2 separate regions of the Homo sapiens genome follow, and region 2 is linked to region 1. The links are contacts of gene promoters, found by promoter capture Hi-C in human tissues and cell types (Jung and others, 2019). All regions are on one chromosome and are shown on one strand. Each heading gives the region's core, a stretch centred on a gene start or on the middle of the fragment in contact. The rest is flanking DNA. Distances are from core to core; before and after follow the strand shown. Region 1 holds the start of ZNF333 (zinc finger protein 333). Region 2 holds the start of OR10H1 (olfactory receptor family 10 subfamily H member 1).

The links. The method cuts DNA at HindIII sites, captures the fragments that hold promoters and counts their contacts. A contact is called where the count stands out against the background at its distance.
Region 2: the fragment with the promoter of OR10H1 here is called in contact with the fragment with the promoter of ZNF333 in region 1 in 1 of the 25 tissues and cell types used here (adrenal gland).

What each region holds. Positions count from the first base shown.
Region 1 is chr19:14,688,611-14,691,764 of GRCh38, forward strand. It overlaps ZNF333 (zinc finger protein 333), which reads left to right and starts at 1,438. Exons shown (of 12, transcript NM_032433.4): 1 at 1,438-1,540. RefSeq lists silencers at 1,032-1,081, 1,412-1,781. The HindIII fragment of the contact is 4,983 bases long and covers 1-3,154 here.
Region 2 is chr19:15,813,974-15,817,040 of GRCh38, forward strand. It overlaps OR10H1 (olfactory receptor family 10 subfamily H member 1), which reads right to left and starts at 1,691. Exons shown (of 4, transcript NM_013940.4): 1 at 1,582-1,691. The HindIII fragment of the contact is 22,557 bases long and covers 1-3,067 here.

The sequences.
Region 1 (3,154 bases), core at 188-2,687:
TGACAGTTACAACATCACTAGGTGATAAGAAATTTTCAGCTCCATTATAACCTTATGGGATCACAACTGTGTATGTGTTTCGTGGTTGACCAAAACCTTGTTATGTGGTGCATGACTGCACATGTGCTTGATATATAAAGAATACCAGGGAACTAGTGACAGTGGTTGTTTCAGGGGAGGAAAATTTAGGAATAGAGTGAGCCTCCCGTTTGAACTTTTCCCATAGGTATGTACTATGTATACTACATAATAAATAGTTTTTAAAAAGTCAGATCTATGTCTTAGATTCACACATCTTATTTTTAGTGAGAAGGGCAAGCTGTAGAAGAAACAAAAATACATCGTCCTATTTTTAGAATAAAGACAGTTAGTTGACCCGTGAACACCAAGGGTTTGAACTGTGGCTATCCCCTTATAGGTAGATTTTTTTCTACCTTTGTCCTCCTTGGGACAGCAAGACAAACCCCTCCCTTTCCTCAGCCTACTCAGGGTGAAGCTGACGATGAAGACGTTTATTTATGATCTTTACGATCACTTCCACGTAACGAAGAGTAAATATATTTTCTCTTCTTCATGATTTTCTTAATAACACTTTCTTTTCTCTGAGCTTAGTTTATTTTAAGAATATGGCATATAATATACAAAATATGTGTTAACTAACTTTATGTTATTGGTAAAGCTTCTGGTTAACAGTAGTCTATTAGTAGGTAGGTTTTGGGGGAGTCAAAAGAAGTGAATTTTCCACTGCACAGGGTGGCGCCCCAACTCCCGTTGCCTAAGGGTCAGCCGTATAAAAATATACAAAAACAATCTTAAGTATGGGTATATTTTTGTAGGGGATTGGATTAAGCCCATGGATAAAGGTGGAAGGGGTTGGGGAAAAGGAAGGAGAAAAGGGTAAGTTAAATATTGAGCATCCCTAAAGAGACCCGGGGAGGGGTCGGGTGTGCCCCTCTCAACCCTTGAAGCCCAGGTCCCCTCATCCCGCCTTCCGAATGCAAGTTCAGCTCCCATTCCCACCCCAAGCACAAGCCCCGCCCCATTTTTGCCCCTGAGGCGCACGACCCGCCCCTACTACCACCCTGCAAACCAAGGCCCCGCCCACTCCGCCATTGGGGTGCAAGCCCCGCCCATCAGCCATCGGAGGGCAAGCCACACTCCACCCCGCCCCCGCGCACAGGCCCCGCCCCACTTTTGCCCCGGGACCTAAGCCCCACCCCTATCCCTGTCTCTCGGACATAGGCTCCGCCCCCAGCACCACCCTCCATGCTCTGTGGGACCCCACTCCAGAGCCTAACCTCATCCCCCGGGTAAGAATACTAGAATTTCTCCTTGGAGGCTAAAGAAGACGTTAGTTTCTCTGCCGCCGCCTAAGGCTACCCTGGCCACAACAGCCTGAGCCACAGCCACTTCCGTTCCCGGCGGCCCCGAGACCGGAAGCGGAAGTGCGCGCGGCGGCGGCCGACGGCGGCTGAGCTGTGCTGCGCGGCGCGGCGCGGTGCGGCACGGCACGGTGGGAGTGTCTCCGGCTGGCTTGCAGGTGTGGCCCGGCCCCTCGGGAGGGCGGGGAGGGCGGGGAGGGCTCGGCTGGCGCGGGGAGGGACTGGAGGGCCTAGAACAGCTCCGCCTGTGTGAGGGGTTTCCTCCCTGCGATCAGCCGGTGGCCGGCGTGAGGCCCACACAGTCAGGGCCTCGCATCTGGGCGCCCGCCGCCCGGTCTCTCGCTCTCAGGTACCCCCCGTCCGGGCAGACAGGGCTGTCATCCTGTCAAAAGGGAAATCCCAAACAGTCCAGGTCCCACAGCTCAGAAATGTGGTGACACCGGCCCCAGCTCTCACCTGTCCTTCCCAATTTTTAGGGAAAGTGCATAAAGACGGCCCTACCTTGCCTACAGTATGCAAGATAACTGCGAATTAGTAATTCACGTTTTATTTGATATGATACTTAATATTATCTAGCTTTGCAACTGGAAAGTGAGGTCTGGGTCCACATGTGCAAACTGGTTTAATTGATTGGCCAAATTTACTTAAAAAATTGAATGCATCCTCCATTAAGGAATGAATTAGATGACGAGAGATTTCTTTTGGAGACTGACAATTTGAAGTCTTTTAGCTTAATATCTGTTAGCTTGGCTTTGCATCTCTTCCTTTTCCATAACTTTTTCTTTCTTCTTTTTTTTCTTTCTCATAAGAAAGCTTTTGGCCAGGCTTGGTGGCTCACTCCTATAATCCCAGCACTTTGGGAGGCCGAGGCGGGTGGATCACCTGAGGTCAGGAGTTTGAGACCAGCCTGGCCAACATGGTGAAACCCTGTCTTTACTAAAAATACACAAATTAGCCGAGCGTAGTGGTGGGCGCCTGTAATCCCAACTACTCGGGAGGCTGAGGCAGGAGAATCGCTTGAACCCCAGAGGCGGAGGTTGCAGTGAGCTGAGATTGTGCCACTGCACTCCAGCCTGGGTGACAGAGCAAGACTCCATCTCAAAAACAAAAACAACAACAAAAGGAGGAGTTCTTAATTTTTTTTGTTTTTGTTTTTCTTTATTTTCTATGTTTGAGACGACTTTTACTTCTGCTGTGGGCATCAAGTTTCTCACTGTTAGGTTAAGAAAAGCCGTTTCTCAGTTATTTCACAAATATTATTATCAAGAAAACCTAAGACTGTTATTCAGATCTTTTCAAGTTGGCTCCAGTCCTTCCCCCAAGCATGTGAATCACAGAGCTTCAAAACTAATGGAACTTCAGGGAAAAGACGATATAAACTTTGTTAATACTGGAAATTCAAATTGAGTTGGCCATAAGTGGGATGTCTTTTTTAATAATGGGGTTAAAGCTCGTGTCTACTGAGAAATCAGGAAAAAATTAACTCCAGAGGAAAATCATGCATCAGATTTCAGTTTTACGAGTGAGGTGTTTGTTTCCACAAAGAATATATGCGCTTGCCTTGCCTTTTTAAAAAGAATTAATATTGTTTCTTAAAGGTACCTGAAACTTGTGTGATTATGTCTTATGAAAGACAGGCACTTTAAGTTATTCTTATATTTGATTTTTATGGTGTCATATTGTCTTTTTTTTTTTTTTTTTTGAGACAGAGTCTCACTTCATCACCCAGGCTGGAGTGCAGTGGCACAATCTCGGCTCACTGCAGCTTCTGC
Region 2 (3,067 bases), core at 441-2,940, 1.1 Mb after region 1:
CGGTGGGGCCAGTTCTCCACTCAGAGACTCTAGGGCTAAGCGTGGCTGTGGACAAGTCCTGCCACAGACATCCCTAGAGCAGGGTTTCCTGCCTTCAGCATTAGGGACGCTAGGGGCGAATCATTCTCTCTCAGAGGGGTGTCCTGTGCACTGCAGGAGACTGAGCAGCATTCTTGGTCTCCACCCACCAGATAGATACCAGCAGCACTCCCCAGTCACGACAATCAGAAATGTCCTTATACGTTGTCACGTGTCTCCTGGGTGACAGCATCACTCCATGGGCCAGGCCTGTCTTGTCTCTGAGACCCCATCTGGCCTTAACTCTCACCCATCCTGGCTCTCTCTTCTTAGTGAAGCTGTCTGGCCTCCCCTCTCTTCCACTTAAGCCACCACTTCCCTCTCTTTTCTCTCCATCTTCTCATCCCCAGCTCCTAACCATTCCCTCACCACCTGCTCCCATTGACGCCTCCCTTGTGTGTGTGTGTGTGTGTGTGTGTGTGTGTGTGTGAGAGAGAGAGAGAGAGAGAGAGAGAGAGAGAGAGAGAGAGAGAGAGAGAGAGACAGGGTATCCCTCTGTCACCCAGGCTGGAGTGCAGAGGCACAATCACAGCTCACTGCAGCCTTAACTTCCTGGGCTCAAGCAATCCTCCCACCTCAATCTCTGGAGTAGCTACAGGTGCCTGCCATTCCTGGCCAATTTTTGTATTTTTTTGTACAGACAGGGTCTCACTATGCTGCCCAGGCTGGCCTCAAACTCTTGGACTCAAGTGATCCTCCCACCTTGGCCTCCCAAAGTGCTGGGATTGCAGGCATGAGCCACTGCACCCGGCCCACCCTGATTCTTTACACCCTGGGGTGGTGGCTGGAGCTTCTGAACCCTGAATCCTCTTTCTCTCTTTTCTCCGCCTCTTCCCAATCCTTTTTCCGTAGACTTCTTGCCTGGACAGACCGAGAAGAGAGGTTAAAATCAAACCATCACCTTGGGTCACATTGAGCATTGGCTGTCTTCTCTCTGCACCTGTTACCTCCCCCATCCAAGGGACCTACCTCATGAGGCAGCAGGAGCTCTAAAGAAGGCAAGTCCTGGCTGGGCACGATGGCTCATGCCTGTAATCCCAGTACTTTGGGAAGCCGAGGCGGGTGGATCACGAGATCAGGAGTTCAAGACCAGCCTGTCCAGCATGGTGAAACCCCTGTCTCTACTAAAAATACAAAAAATTAGCCAGGCATGGTGGCACGCACCTGTAGTCCCAGCTACTCAGGAGGCTGAGGGAGAAGAATCGCTTGAACCTGGCAGGCGGAGGTTGCAGTGAGCCGAGATTGCGCCACTGCACTCCAGCCTGGGCTACAGAGCGAGATTCCGTCTCAAAAAAAAAAAAAAAAAAATAGAAGAAGGTAAGTCCTGCTAAGCAAACAGCACACTGACTAAGACGTGGTGAGTGGCCTCTGCCTGTCACCCACTGCCCTGTAGACTCACATTGCTAAAGGAGTAATATAAACAGGTGGTTTCTTGGAGTCCCTGGCAGGTGCTGGTTCCCCAGGTCTCTCCTGGTCAGGTGGCTGAGAGGGGAGGTGACTCACCTGGGACTCCAGGCATCTGCTTCTGCTTCATCCCAGTAGGAGGCTCTAGTTTGGAGTTTCTCCACAGGTGGGAGCTGACCAGGTGTGGGCTGCACCAAGCAGCCACACCAGCTGAGCCGGGGGCTTGACTGAGCCCAAATGCGATTATTTATCCCTCCCTGACTCCCTGCCCACCGGCTTCCCTCGCTGTGGTCCTACTGTCTCTGTCTCCGCTACAGGGATGCTGGGACCCCAGGGACCCTGCCAGAGAGGAGGCAACCTCAGGGAATCTGTATCCTCACTTTCCCATTCCCCCCGCCTGCCAGGGGTGAGTCAATTCCCTGAGCTTGTCAAGAGCTTGAGCAGAGTCTAGTGCTCTACAGATTTGGGGTTTGGGCCCATGACTGTTGAAATTGACAGGAGGGCAGCCCTGCCATTGCCCCCAGGGACTGCAGAGGCTGCCTTGATATGCCCCGTCACCTTCATTCTTCTCCAACTGGGTCATTTGCCCAACTAAATGTCCTTTAAAATAATTTTTTAAAACCAACACACACACACGTATTTGTTTTTATTTTTATTTTTTGAGACAGGGTCTAGCTCTGTTGCCCAGGCTGGAGTGCAGTGGTGTGATTATGGCTCACTGCAGCCTCAACCTCCCAGGCTCAAATGATTCTCCTGCCTCAGCCTCCTGAGCAGCTGGGAGTAAAGGTGCTTGCCACCACACCTGGGCTAAGTTTTAATTTTTCTGTAGAGATGGGGTCTCGCTTTGTTGCCCAGGCTGGTCTTGAGCTCCTTGGCTCAAGGGATCCTCCCACCTTGACCTCTCAAAGTGCTGGGATTACAGCTGTGAGCCACCATGCCTGGCCTGTTTCTTCTTATTATGTAATTGAAATGCTACATACAAAGCAGCAAACCATGCAATGGCCAGCCAGGCAATCGTGACGGTGAATTTAATGGGTATCCCTTCAGATCTTCATGAGCATGTAGGATGTGAAAACAATGCAAACCCATAAAATCAGAGTTCTGTTGTGCATTATTGTTGCTTTCGCTTCGTTCTGCTTTTGAGGTGAAATTCACATAAAATAATCAACCACTTTAAAGTATACAATTCCCTGGGATTGAATGCATTCACAATGTTGTGTGGCCGCCGCCTCTGTCTAGTTCCAAAATGTTTTCATCACCTAATACCCATTAGCAGCCACTCCCCTACCCCACCCAGTCCTTCAAAACCACCAATTTGTTTTCTGGCTCTGGCTCTATGGACTTACCTATTCTAGACATTTCATATAAATGGGACTATATACTACTATATATAACGATGCATTATGATTGCCCCTGTGAGTAGCCACGGCACTCCAGCCATTTTGTCAACACAAAAATGTCGACATTGCCAAGACTGAGAAACTTTGGTCTGCATAAACTCACACAGAGTTCACTCTAAGACGCTGAGTGAAAAACCAAGTTACGGAAAGATATCTACGGGAGAATCAGATCTGCATTTTAAAAA